2 separate regions of the Homo sapiens genome follow, and region 1 is linked to region 2. Evidence: promoter capture Hi-C in human tissues and cell types (Jung and others, 2019). All regions are on one chromosome and are shown on one strand. Each heading gives the region's core, a stretch centred on a gene start or on the middle of the fragment in contact. The rest is flanking DNA. Distances are from core to core; before and after follow the strand shown.

What was found. Contacts are between HindIII fragments. The study calls those that stand out against the background at their distance.
Region 1: a fragment that was not itself captured here is called in contact with the fragment with the promoter of MEOX2 in region 2 in 1 of the 25 tissues and cell types used here (lymphoblastoid cells).

Annotation. Positions count from the first base shown.
Region 1 is chr7:15,632,784-15,640,269 of GRCh38, forward strand. The region is part of intron 1 of MEOX2 (mesenchyme homeobox 2); the gene reads right to left. Among named protein-coding and RNA genes, the nearest start is that of MEOX2, 50 kb to the right of the region's middle. The HindIII fragment of the contact is 6,891 bases long and covers 2,475-7,486 here.
Region 2 is chr7:15,685,020-15,691,662 of GRCh38, forward strand. MEOX2 (mesenchyme homeobox 2) reads right to left here and starts at 1,664. Exons shown (of 3, transcript NM_005924.5): 1 at 867-1,664. The coding sequence starts at 1,383. It overlaps LINC02587 (long intergenic non-protein coding RNA 2587), which reads left to right and starts at 3,359. Exons shown (of 2, transcript NR_110094.1): 1 at 3,359-3,433. RefSeq lists an enhancer at 28-860. The HindIII fragment of the contact is 7,827 bases long and covers 170-6,643 here.

The DNA.
Region 1 (7,486 bases), core at 4,670-7,169, 48 kb before region 2:
GGCTTAGAAAGAGTTTACAGAGCCCAGAATTGACTTTATGGCTCTTGCTATAGTCCAGAGAGAAAACATAAACTAAAGAAAGATCATGGCTATCCATCCAACAAAACAAGGCACTTGTGCCTGGATCTGTCTAATAGCAAAGGACTTCTCAAAGGTCATCATTTGCACCTACAGTGGGACTAAAGGCCCTAATTAAGACTTTTTGACATAAAGCATTCCATTCCATTTTCCCTGATTATATTAGTTTAAAGAGGGTACCACTTCTGTCAGCTCCCTTCAAACTCCTTTTGTTCCTTTCTTACAATGCTTACCACATTATGTCACTGTACGGATGCTTTCTCTCCTATACTAGAACGTAAGTGTTTGAGGCCAATTCTTGTTCTAGTTTATTCAGACACTGGAGGTCAATAAAAATAATACTTGTTTTCACACTTAATTTTAATACACGCAGAAGCAATAGGCAAGATAGTGAAGAGAACTCAAGCTTCCACATGTGTCCCCCATTCACCTCCTACTCAGCTCTTATGTCAGCAAATGGCCTGGAATTACATGGTATTACTGCATATTTGAGAAGATGGGGAGGGAAAGAAACTATTTTCACAAATTAAGGACAATAGTAACTTGGCAAAGGCAGAAAGAATTGTGACATTTCTAATTTACAGCTGTCAACAGGGCAAAAAGGATTGAGCCCTCTTATGGCATCAGATAACACCATACAGATTTGCAGTGTGATGCCAGAAAATTCAGCACCAATTCTGCCGGTAGTGCAGTAAAACCCTTGGACATGCAACAGGAAAACTTCCATGGAGTTTTTTATTTATATTATGAAAGACAAGTCCACACCTTCTCAGAGTGTAAGGACTAGCATTTATGCTGTAATTCTGAGCCATTTCTTTAGCAAGTCATCATAGTCGCTTTAATGTATTTTTAAGCAGTGATGTAGAAATTATTGAACTTTTCATTTATTTTCATGTCTGCTTTGCTTCTCTGGACTCTAGACTCTGGGTAACTTATGAGTATGAATTTTGTCTTCCTCATCTTTGTATTTCTAATACTAAATACCTACTATTCTGCTGTATCTTTGACTTTACGATCTGATTATAGATTATAATTACAAAGATAACCCTAAGGAGCCTTGTTCTGGCATAGAAATTTAACTGACCTTCAGCTTAGAAAAAGGAAAAGTATCATTTATTATTGCTTTCTATTAACTTTTAAGACATGTTTACACATATCTCGTGTAACTAATGGCAGACAAGTAATGTTATCTTCATTCTATATTTATAACGATATCTCCAAACATGTTTACATAGAAAAGTACCAAATCAGTCTCCCTATTATAAAATTTGAAACCAAAATCATTGAATGTTATACGAAGTGAAGGAACATATTGCCCAGAGATTATAGTTCTGAACCTCAGCACTATTGACATTTTGGATTGGATAATTCTTGTTACATTTGTATTCAATGAAACATAAACATATTCAAAATAAAGATGTCCTGTGTGAGGTGGGGACAGTTCTGGGCTTTGTAGAATGTTTAGAACATCCCTGGCTTCTACTCACTGGATGCTTGTAGCAAACCTCAACCCTAATTTTAGTGTTGTCAGATAAAATATGGTTCTCCCAGTCCAATTTGAATTTCAGACAAACAATAAATAAAGTTTTAGTATGTTACAAATATTACACAAAGCATACTTGTATTTTAAAATGTTTATTGTTGTATGAAAATTCTAATTCAACCAGATATCTGTAGTTTAATTGGTTAAATCTGGCAATCCTAAATTGCCAATGTACTCCATGGGGAAAAATTGCTCCCAGTAGAGAATCATTGCATATAGATAATATTTGGATGAAGACATCAATAACTTTCAGTTATACAACTCTTTTTAGGAATGACCAACATGATTCATAAGTTGCACGCATTATTTATGTGTAAATAATCCCACCTTTATACTGTGGTCACGCCTTGTCTCCTCCAAGCCAATGACGAGATTATTTGCAGATAAAATTGTTCAAGAAGAGATTTTGTCAGTGCTAATTCACCCAAAATATAACTGCAGAATAAGTGACTCTAACTTCAGAGGATTATCCACATGGAACAGTAAAATGACACATATGGCATCACCATAGAAATTACCATGTTCCTAAGCCATCCCTTAGAGGTGTGAGAGTTTCAGTAAATTTCAGAGGGAAGTATTATGTTTCTACAATGCATCAAAGCACATAAGCACTAATAATAAATCAACTATTTGATTACATCCATATCATTTAATTAAATACTGACTGAATTAATAAATATTAACTTTGTAGGCATGCATTTTAGAAATTGAGGAGATTCTTACAAACCGTCTATTTCCACCTGCTCTCTACCTGAGAAAAGTGAGGCTCAAAGTGGCTGAAGGGCTCACCAATGGTCACAGATAGTCACAGAATGTTCCTAGGCCTAAGTGTCATTCAGCTTCAGAAACCAACAGGAATACATTTTATGAACTCCTGAAATATCCTTTACCTACTGCATGGCCTTTTCACAACAAGGATTTGAGGACCACTGCCATTTAATTGTGATACTAAATATGGTTATGAAACCTAAAATACTCAAACAGAATCTTGAGTACCAAACATTCCAAATACACAGATATTAAGAGCATCCTCTCTGCTCCTTATCTGCTTATTCAACCCCTATTGTCTCCCCTGTGCTCATCTTTAACACAGACTTTAAGTGAAGAGGGTTAAATTAAGCAAATCATGTAGAACAATGCCTACATATTACGGGCACTCAATAATCAATTGTAAACTCTAGCCGTTATTAGGAGAGGACTGTGGTCCAAGGCCTTAGCAATTGAAAATTATGCATTTGATAAAATCATGTGTTATAATTAGTTTTTTTAAAATGTAGGAAAATTTTGTTTTTAAAATGGACCTCAATCTAAAAATCTAAGAATTTAGGAATTTACACAGTGACTAGCAGAGTTCCACTTTACATTGAAAAATGGTTGGGCCCCTAAAAGTATCTATGTGTTATTTTTGGCTAATGTACAAACGAAGCTGAAAGTTTAATTACAATTTTCCAAGGAACCTGGGGAGGTGACACTTTACAAGGCTTAGTGGTATCAGTGTATGAAATTGTATTTCCTCTGCAAGTTTTATTTGGAAATTCAGTGAAACATAACCAAACCTGGCATACCCAATAAAACGGAGTCAGATAGTGTGCTTGTGTTTGTGTGGGTATGTGTGTTTCTTCTCTTTTAGAGTCCTGTCAAACAGGTACATAAATGTAGGAAGATAGGAGTCACATTCTGCCTAGTGGTTAAAGTATTAAAAAAAGTTTAATTAATACTTCTAAATGGATTTTTAGAAGACCAAGATAAGAAGTATTTACTGAAAACACTTACAAGCCGATTCTCTTAAATGTTGTGCTGTTATTTACTTAGAAATTTTCTCTAATTATGAGTTTCTTCATATAGAGGGTTTGAGAAAAAAAATCCCTTAGATATTTTTTCTGAAATAATCATATCGGAAGATTAATGACCAAGAATTTATAAATTGATTTTGCTTTGGTTTCAAAGTATAATAAACAAATTATAAACAATAATAAATAATGCATAAAGGTAATGAAATAAAACTTATTATAAAATACCAAACAACATAGGGTTCTAGCTCAGGCATCAGTTTCCTTTTGACTGCGCTAGTGAAGTTAAATTCTTGTGATCTGTTACATGATTGTAGCTGTATTGGCAAGAAGGAAAACAATCTCAGGCTGACGAATCTGCATTATAATCAAATTGTGATTGTTTTTTGCAAAGATTTTCCCAATTAGAGAGCATCTGAATCATTTCTTTGGAGATCTTAAATTCAATTATACATGCCATATAGAAATTTAAGAACATAAATGTAATTATTATCTGCCTCAGTCCATTTTGTGCTGCTATAACAGAATACCTGAGTGAATAATTTATTTTAAAAAACCAGAAATTTATTTCCTACAATCCTAGAGGCTGAGAAGAAGTGCACGATCAAGGCAGCAACATCTGGTGAGTGCTTTCTGGCTGCATCCTTAATGGCAAAAGGCAGAAGGGCAAAAGAGCGTGATCCCATTCATATAAGCCCTTTTCATAGTGGCATTAATCCATTCATGGGAGTGAAATCCTCATGACCTAAACACCTCCCAAAAGGCCTCACCTGCCAGCACTGTTGCCCTGGGGATCAAGTTTTCAACACGTGAATTTTGGGAAACACATTCAGACCATAGAATTATCCATTTATTTATGATATTTTAGAGACTAACTTTAATATTCTGTTGGGTAAATTATACTAGGAAAATAATTTCACTGAAGTCTGAAATGTTTTTTAAAATCATACTTAATTTCATATTAGTTTAAATGTGAAAAATGTCCTACACCTATTTCTGATCTCTGCCAAGATAGTATATAATGATACGGCATTAAGTTTCTGTGAATGTGAAGCTTTCATCTAGGTCTTACAGATAATCCTTGGGTTGTAATTGCATAACAAATTCAGGCACTCAAAACTCACATACGTCATAGGTTACATCTTATAATTTCTGAAATGATTCATAAGTTTCTTCCAGTTAGATATTAGATAGCATTCAGTATTCCATTACATGGTGGAGAGAAAGGGACTTGAAGCATACACATTTTTGTTTTACTGAACACGTGTGCTACCACCCACAAAAAGAGGATGTGCTTACTCCTAAAATGTAATTTTCCAATACACACACACACACACGCACACACACACGCACACACACACATAAAACATACCATCTGCTAATCTTGCAATACTTCTCAATAAGCAGAAAAATCTTAGTAGTATCCAGTTTTTAAAGTTTTTCATTGATTAAACAGAATTGTAGTTATAATTATAGCTCTATAACTTGTACAGTTCTGTTTACAACTCTAGTTATTTAGAAGGAAAGAGTGGCTGGGGAACATATCGGGGCTTTGAAGCCAGCAGACTTGGGTTGGATATCAGTTGTTGCTACTTACTGTGTGGTCTTCTGAGGCTGGTTTTTGAAATTCAGATTCCCCATCTAAGAATCCACAGGATTGTTGAAAATAGGAGAATTAGAGAATTTAAAGTGTGTATATCTGAGATATAGTATCAATTCAATAATACAAACCTACTATTAGTAATATTAAACTTAAAATGTACCAGGAGTAGGATGGTACTGTTACATTTATTAGCCTTTTCTAAGTCAAATTTATTAGTTTACATATTTCATTTGAATCATTTAACTTTCATTTGACACGTAACATTTAGTGAAATACACCTTTATTTCATTTTTAGTGATCTTGAACTTAGTAAAAAGATGATTTTTATTTTCTAGCTCTTTCCACCCCTGTGTATTTTAAAAGATCCACAATCCTCATAATTTCTTTAAGCAATCAGCAAGAGTTGTGTATGATTACTTTTTAAAAAGTTAATAGGTTGTGAAAGTCTGTATGCTTTTATTTCTTTCATGTTTTATAGCTTTGCTGCTAAAAATTGCAGTCTAGTTTAAAGCATAAATTATTTTTCTGAGTGCAATTAAATGGCATTATCTTTTATTTATGTACGTTTGTATGTGCATGGGCATATATATTTACAGTTAACACACTTAAAATACTTTGTTTTATTTAGTCTTCATTGGTCTCATATGCATTTAGTCTAATTCATGCAAATTTTGTGCATATGTAAAACATTTCTAGATCTTCTTTATTTTTTAGGTTCAGAGGCGTACATGTGATGGTCTGTTACGTAGGTATATTGCATAATCGTAAGGTTTGGGCTTCTAGTGAACCCATCACCTAAATAGTGAACATGGTAGTATTTTTTACCCTCTCCTCCTTCTCTCTCTCCCCTTTTGGAATCCCCAGGGTCTATTATTTCCATCTTTGTGTCCATGTGTGCCTATCGTTTAGCTTCCACTTGTAAGTGAGAACATGTGTATTTCATTTCTTTCTGAGTTATTTCACTTAAGATAAAGGCCTCCAACTCCATCTCTACTGCTGTAGAGGACAGGATTTGATACCTTTTTTATGGCTCCATAATATTCCATGGTGCATATATATCACAATTTCTTTACGCGATCAACTGTTGATGGACATTTAGGTTGATTCCATAAATTTGCTATTGTGAATAGTGCTGTGATAAACATGATAAAAACAGGTGACTTTTTGATACAATTATTCCTTTCCCTTTGGGTAGATACCCGGTAGTGGAATTGCTGGGTGAAATTATAGTTCTTTTTATAGCTGAGAAATCTCCATACTGTTTTCTATAGGATATAAGCTAATTTACATTCCCACCAACGGTGTAAAAGTATTCACTTTTCTCCACATCCTCACCATCTGTTATTTTTTTGACTTTTTAATAATAGCCATTCTGACTGGTATGAGATGGTATCTCATAGGGGTTTTTATTTGTATTTCACTGATGATTTGTGATGTTGAGCATGTTTTCATATGTTTATTAGCAACTTGTATGTCTTCTTTTGAGAAGTATGTGTTCATGTCCTTTTTCTACTTTATAATGGGGTTGTCTGTCATTTTCTTGTGGATTTGTTTAAGTTCTTTATATATTCTGGATATTAGTCTTTTGTTGGATGCAGAGTTTTTGAATATTTTCTTCCAGTTTCTAGGTTTTCTGATTATTCAATTGATTGTGTCTTTTGCTGTGCAGAAGCTCTTTAGTTTAATAAGTCCCATTTGTCTGCTTTTGTTTTTGGTGCATTTTCTTTTGAGGTCTTAATCTAAAGGCCAGTTTCTAAAAAAGTTCTTCCTAGATTTTCCTCTTTTTTTTATAGTTTTGGGTCTTATGTTTAGATCTTTGGTACATCTTCAGTTAATTTTTGTATATAGTGAGAGATAAGGTTCCAGTTTCATTCTTCTGCATGTAGCTAGCCAGTTTTCCCGGAACCATTTATTAAAAACGGTGTCTTTTCTCCATGTTTATTTTTGTTGACTTTGTTGGAGATCAGCTAGCATTAGGAGTGTGGCTTTATTTCTAGGCTCTCTATTCTGTTCCATTGATCTATGTGTCTATTGTACCAGTACCAAACTGTTTTGGTTACTAAAGCCTTCTAGTACCCTTTGAAGTCAGGTAATGTCATATCCCCAGTTTTGTTTGCTTTTGTTTTTTGTTTGTTTGTTTTGCTTACGATTGCTTTGGCTATTTGAGCTCTCTTTTTTGGTTCCATGTGGATTTTAGAATTGTTTTTCTAATTCTGTGAAAAATGACATTAGTAGTTTAATAGGAATTGTGTTGAATCTGTAGATCACTTTGGGCAAATATAGTCATTTTAATGATATTGATTCTTCCTATCCATGGGATGTTTTTCCATTTGTTTGTATTATCTATGATTCTATAATCAGTGCTTTGTAGTTCTCCTTGTAGAATTCTTTCACCTCCTTAGTTAGGTCTGTTCTAGGTTTGTTGTTGTTGCTGTTTGGGGGTTGTGTGTGTGTGTTTGTGTGTGTGTGTGT
Region 2 (6,643 bases), core at 414-2,913:
CTCCTGCGCGCACCCTTGCATACCCCTTTAGACACGTATCTAACTAACAGTACCCGAGTTGCTGTTGCTTCGCAGTATTTGTCTCTACTAATACCCACTTGGTAGAGGGATTTATTTTCCACTTTTGAAACTTAGGTTCTGTAATTAGCTTACACCACATGGACATGTACTATTAAGGTTCGTCTTTCTTCCAGTGTGAGCATCTATTTATTTACAATTCTCTGACACATTCCTTAAAATCTGAATTCCTAGATAATGTCTTCTTCCCCAATAAAGGGAAAATTTTACCATTTGAAATAGGGTGCTATTTAAAGAACGCTGAAATAAGAATGTTAAAAAAAAAAAACTGAAACTTTTTTTTCTCATGCGCTCTGCCAAGTTCCATTGCAAGTTCCAAACATTGTGCAATAATTTGGAAATCCAGTTAACGATGGGAAAAATCGAGCCACTCAGAGTCGGCAACTTGCAAGAGAAAAGTCAAGAAGCGGCACCCGCACGCACGCCTGCCCAACGGACGCTGCATCCCTGGGCGCACGCCCCTCCCTCCCCAGCGCTGGGATGGAAGGTCACGCTTCACAATCGATTTCACAGCCACTTGTCCTTTTTTATCAACCTTCTGGTAAACTAGTTTAGGACTTTGGAGGGCTTAGAGCTGCTGGCTGTATACGCATTGCTCTCGAATAAACACGTGTCCCCAAATATCAGGACCAAAGCTTCACCGCCGAATTTGGCCGCAGGAAGCCACAGAGGGCAACACATTCCCATCTTCCCTGCTGCCACCCTCCAGTGCGAGAATCTCCCCTAGTATCTCTCCGCCCCTTTTCCAGCCCGGCGCGCACTCTCGAGGGTGCCTGGCGCGCCCTTACCTGAGCTGTCGCTTTTCCTCTTGCCGCCGCTTCGCTTCTCCGCCTCCGCAGGTGACAGTGCCTGGCGGCCGTAGTCCCCCGGCGCGCACGCGGCCCCAGTCGGGGTGCTGGAGCCCAAGCTGGAAGAGTTGGAGCACAGGACGGGCGGGCTGCTCCCCAACTCTGGGGGCCCTCCAGAGTCGGGCTGGAGGCAGAGGCTGTGCCGAGCCGCACTCGGTGGGGAAGACATCTGCGGGAGGTGCCAGTTGGTTTGCAGAGCCTGGTGCTGCTGCTGCTGATGGTGGTGATGGTGGTGGTGGTGGTGGTGGTGGTGGTGCCCCCTGTGATGCTGGCTGGCAAACATGCCCTCTTCGTTGGGGTATCCCGCGATTATGCAAGATGAGGAAGAAGTAGAGAGCTCGGGGTAAGACATATGGTCAGATCTTCCATGGAGGGCGAGAGAGGATTGGGAGAACGGGTGCAAGCCTTGCGCCGTGGCGTGAGGGCTGCGCAGGCAGCCAAAGAGCGGGTGTTCCATAGCATGCAAGTTTCGGGTTCCAGGCAGAAGACTTCACGGCGGTTCCAAAGGCCACCACCCTCTGTCACTTTTTCACTGGAAACCGTGTGATTTTTTTTTTAACCTCCCAAAGCAATAGCGGTGCACTTCTGCAGAGCTCGGATAATCCCGGTCCTGAGCCCCAGCGGCCAGTCTCCTTTACATATGAACAGTCGGACCTGGAAGAGCTTCCCTGAGCTACTCAGATGTCAAGAGTGGGAGAGGTTGAAGCCAAAAGAAGGTGGTCCCAGAGAACTGCTTTCAGGGGGAAATGGCTCTGAGAAGTTATAAATAGAGTGTAACGTGAGCTGGGGGCTGGCTTAGGAGCCCAGAGTTGACCACATGCAAACTCCCTCCAAAACTCCCGCTCAGCCTGCGCCACGCGCTCCCAGTTCCACTTCCTATCTCCTGCTGGACGGACGTAGAGCGTCCACGCCCGCCCAGCACTGCCGGCTGCCAGGACTACAAGCGGCACGCCAACGTCTAAGTCCCGCCCGGGAGGGCAGCAGCTCTGCCCTCCAGACTCTGGAGGCCTGGGCGCGGCGCACACCACCCCCAACCTAGCACCCTGATTCCTACCTACTCACTTTCCTCTCGGGGAAACGTGACTTGTCAGTGTCATTTGGGAACTGTCACCTGCAGAAAAGCTAGGGATACGCCTATCCTTTCAGGAACACGAAAGAAGTAATAGGGTTAAAGGAAAAGACCAGAGCTAGTTTGGCGCACCCTCGAAGTTTTTCAAACTTTGCATCTTCCCGTGCCCCGGGCGCCGCAGCGCGCCTAGGTTTTCGCAGCTGGTTTCTGTCGGTGGGTTGTTAATAGGCTGGGACGCCAGATCTGAGGTTGCGGGGATGAGCACCATGGCCTGGAAAAGGCGGTTCTCAGTGCAGAAAGAAGACGGACCTGGTTGGGTGGGTGGGAGGAAGGCGTGAGTCTGAAAGGGTTGCAGATGCCTGCTCCCTGGCATCCTCACGTGCGATGCCAGGTGGAGGCTCCCTTCCCCCTCTTTCCCGGTCCCGCTCAATTTCCTAGCCACTTGTCCACCAAGAAGAACTTTTCCTGGGTCAAGAATATTTCCAAGCGATTGTGTCCCGGTCATATGAGATGTGTAGATTGCACGCGCATTTCTAGCCTTTCCCCTCAGGAGCTAGCCCAGATCTCCTCGGTTTCCTCCAGAAATCCACTCTCTTCTGCTCAAAAATAAATCCGCTAATGCATTCCTTACCACCAGGGTTCCATTTACTGAGAATTCTTACATTTCGATAGCTCCCAAAATTCACTCACCGTGGGCACTTGGTTACAATTTTGCACCCCTGAAAATAAAATAGAAAACTCGCCTCTAGTAAGCATGCGAGAGCGAGGGCAGGGCTTTGAAGCTGCTACTTGCTTGGCGGGCGACAGGGTCCGCTGGGGGCAGAGTCGTTTACACACAAGTGAGTGGCGCTGTAATGAGCAGGAGGAACAGTCATGTCCCATCTGCGACCTGTCGCATCAGGAGAATATCTGTAGTCACCTATTCTGCCCGGGGCCCCAAATGCGCCACCAGCAGTGTCGCCCCGTTTTTTCATTGTCTCAGGTGTCCAGAGGATGATGACCAGGTCTTTGAAGTTGTTAGTGGGATTAATGGGTACAGCAAACTGGGCTAGACATCTGGTTTGAATTAGGAAAAAGCATTGATTAATCTTTGAGAGGTGTCCCCAAAGCAGAACCTTTCCCCTCCTCTTCCAGTCCCCTTGCTTAAGCCTCACTATCTTCTTTTCTTTTAAGTCACACTGCAGAATAGTGGCTTCGCAATAACATCCGTGTGAAAGATCGAATTGTTTTCTATTGCTCAGAGGTGGGGTGGAGTGGGGGTTGATCAGGAATTCTGAGATTTGTAAGCGCTGCTTTCTTTAACGGAAATTGAGCTCTATTTTGAGGGAAATTAGTTTTGCAGACTTCGTTTAAAAAAAAAAAAAAACTAAATCTTTTGTTCACCAGCTGCTCAGCTTTTCAGTCTGGGTCTGAGCTGAAACCTGCTGCAAGTCTGACGGTAAGACTTTCTTTGCCGATATTTTGGGAATCTAATATTGTTTTAGACTTCGAAAAGGGGTGTTGTTCAGGTTGCACGTTTCTAGGGGCTTTAAGCACTCGCAGGATGGCGTCCAGGACTTAGATCTTGAGAATATCTCTTCCTGCCACTCCCCACGCCCTTGGCTCTTTAAGAATAAAAAGAGGTGGGGGAGTTATAGTCCTCCAATATCGTCGGAATATTTTTTTGTATTTTCATTGTGTTTATGGTTTCAATATGTGCTCTGATATTAAAAGTTAAAGTACAAAGAGCAACACTAAACTTCCCCAACTCATGTAGCTTCTCTATGGATTCTGGGTGAAAGCATTAAAGGCTTTATTTAAAGTGAGATTTAGGCAACCACCTCAATAAACCTAACCAGAAATATTTACATAATATAATGCTGTCAACTAAAAGCATTGTGGAAAATGTCAGACAAGACAGACTAAAATTACTCATGATCTGCAGACATCAGTACAAAACATCCACAACGGTCCTTTTGGTTTGCATTACATTGGTTTAGAGGAAGCTAAGCAATTACTAAATGAATGGATTTGAATTTAACCAGTGTGTTGCAGGTAACCAGCAACAAGCACACACAAACCTTTCATCTCCCGAGGCTGCCACTTCTTCTTAAACCTGCCCAGTGACTGTGCTGGATTTTTTCTCACTCACTGTGTCAGATGTTAACAACCTGTCCAGAAGTTTCTCTACAACCTGCCCCAGTCAGTCAGCCTCTAGAACTGTGGGGCCAGAAACCTGGGAAGAAAAATTTAAGAAAGGTTAGAAAAGGAGGAAGTCATTCCAAAGGCATGCAATGAAAACAAAGCTAGCAAGAAAGGTCTTTTTAATTGAAGACACAGAACATTTAATATCAGCAAAAATTATGATGTCCAGTTTTCTTATAGAAAACAGAATATAAGGAAAATATTTGGAAGGAAAAAATGAAGGACTAAAAAGGACGTCTTGGTGAATTCCAGAATTAAATATAACTTTAATTTTCTCTGGATTTCTAAATATGTATTAATCATTACATAAAGATTTTTAAATTTTATTAGAATATTTGGAATAAGATAGAATATTGAATTTTATGTTCTAGGTTATAGAGAAATTTTTAAAATGTAGTAACAACGGGAAAAAAATCCCTAGCATTTCCTATAATAGCTACTTCAGTGTTCACATCCATAAAATCCAATATTGAAAAGATGCCTTTTTACCTAATGATATCAAGAAGAATGGTAAAAATTATAAAATTTATTATAAAATTTCTATATAACAATCATTTACAACTATGTATGATATAGTATTTATCCTACATTTATAATATACTTGAGTTTTCCTGAAGATAAGTTATATTAATGCCAACATTTCATGTAAGGTTTCAATATCAAGTAACACATTATAAAGAGGTTGATTCTGTGAAAAGGTAAGCTACTTAGCTCTTGCAGGGTCCACAGCTATAATTATTTTAAACGTAGGCTAGGTTCTTTAAACTTGATAAGTGTGTATATCTATTGTTTCCTCGGCTTAAATAAAATGACATTCAAGAGTAAAGGCAGAGATTTCTTTTTATTAGGACTATTTTATTTTAAGGGGACTAGAGCTCATATTAAGCAATACAACAAAATTGTATTTAAATTTTACTTTAAGATTCACAACGATTCTTTTAAAAGTTGCCATTCTTCTGCACACGTGTGACATGAGTTGTCATGGAACTTCAAATATTTAAAATTAAATAGGAAACTCTACTTTGAATTTTACCTAATAGATAAATTTTCCTTGGTAACATATACTCATAATATATGAACTAAAGGGTGGATAATTAAATTAATGTTGTAATTTGTTTCTGAAAACTTTATTGGGTATAGAAATATTATTTCTGCTATATTTTGCCAAAAAGTAGCAGTTATGTCCTTCAGTTGGTTCTTCTGAAATAAAGAATTTTGAAAATGTATCCAAATATGCTAAATACCCAATGGTAATTTATGTGATTTATGATGTACATTATTTTATAAAACTAAGGAACTGATTCTCCCCAGGAACTATGCATTATAAAGTTTATGGAACAATTTTGCTATGGCTAATGCATGTTATTTAGTGATTCTGTATACTTTTACACATTTTTAAAATGTTATTATTTTTATATAACATTAATTGGTACATTCACAGTAAAAATTGTTACATTCATTTTACATGTACCAAAAGAAATGAATACTTAAAACCTTACTTCTAAACTGTAAAACAATCCAACGTACTTTGTTTTTCTAGTTTCTAGGTCTTCCTGCATTTAAATTTATTTCTTTCAGGAATTAGTGTTTTTCTTCCATTCAATTCCGGTATAGTATAATCAATGAAATTGTTCTCAACGCTAAATATAACTCTGCCTAAAGCAATAAGAGAGGAAACAAAATATATCAAAATTAGAACTATTTAACGGATGATCTTTAGAAAGCCAGCATGCAATATAGATTATGACTAATAAAATTAAATCTAAAAGATTGAATTAAAAATTCAAAATATATGCATTCTTTCATAATATGTATTCACACTTAATAAAATTCTAATGATCTCTTGTCTTTCTTTTTCTTTTTTTATTTTGTGAGGCGTCTTATGATTGGGAAGACATAGATTGCCTCTCAAATTTCAAACACTTCCATCTGGACTTCCTTTTGTTCACCTGTTTTAAATCCATAATTATTTGATAGTTAACTCATAATAATGCTAATAGACAATAATTAATTTCTACATTTTCATTTGCATTCACGTTGTATGTTATTTTTATTGATAAATGTAGGCCTTTTCAAAATTTTGTCATTGAAAATTATATCCTTTCCATAACAGGGAGAGGTACAGGCAAACTAATTCAAGAGAATTCTATAATGAAATGCTCTATATTATGTTATATTTTCTATAGCATCCAACTCATAACCATTACATTTCTATCCACAATTTAAGGGAACTACACCGTTTATTTCTCCCATGTCTTAAAAAGCAAGGCTATCCTTTTATATGAATTGAATTTAGAAAAGTTCACAAACCTCAGAGAAGAAAAATTGAATCGAAAATACAGACAGGAATTATAAGTAAAACCTTAGTCTTCTGTTTTAAGTTTTCCAACTTGAAGAGTTCAACATAACCAATGTAACTTTGGCACTATGATAAGTTTTTCTTGTGTGTTTTTATTTTTCATAC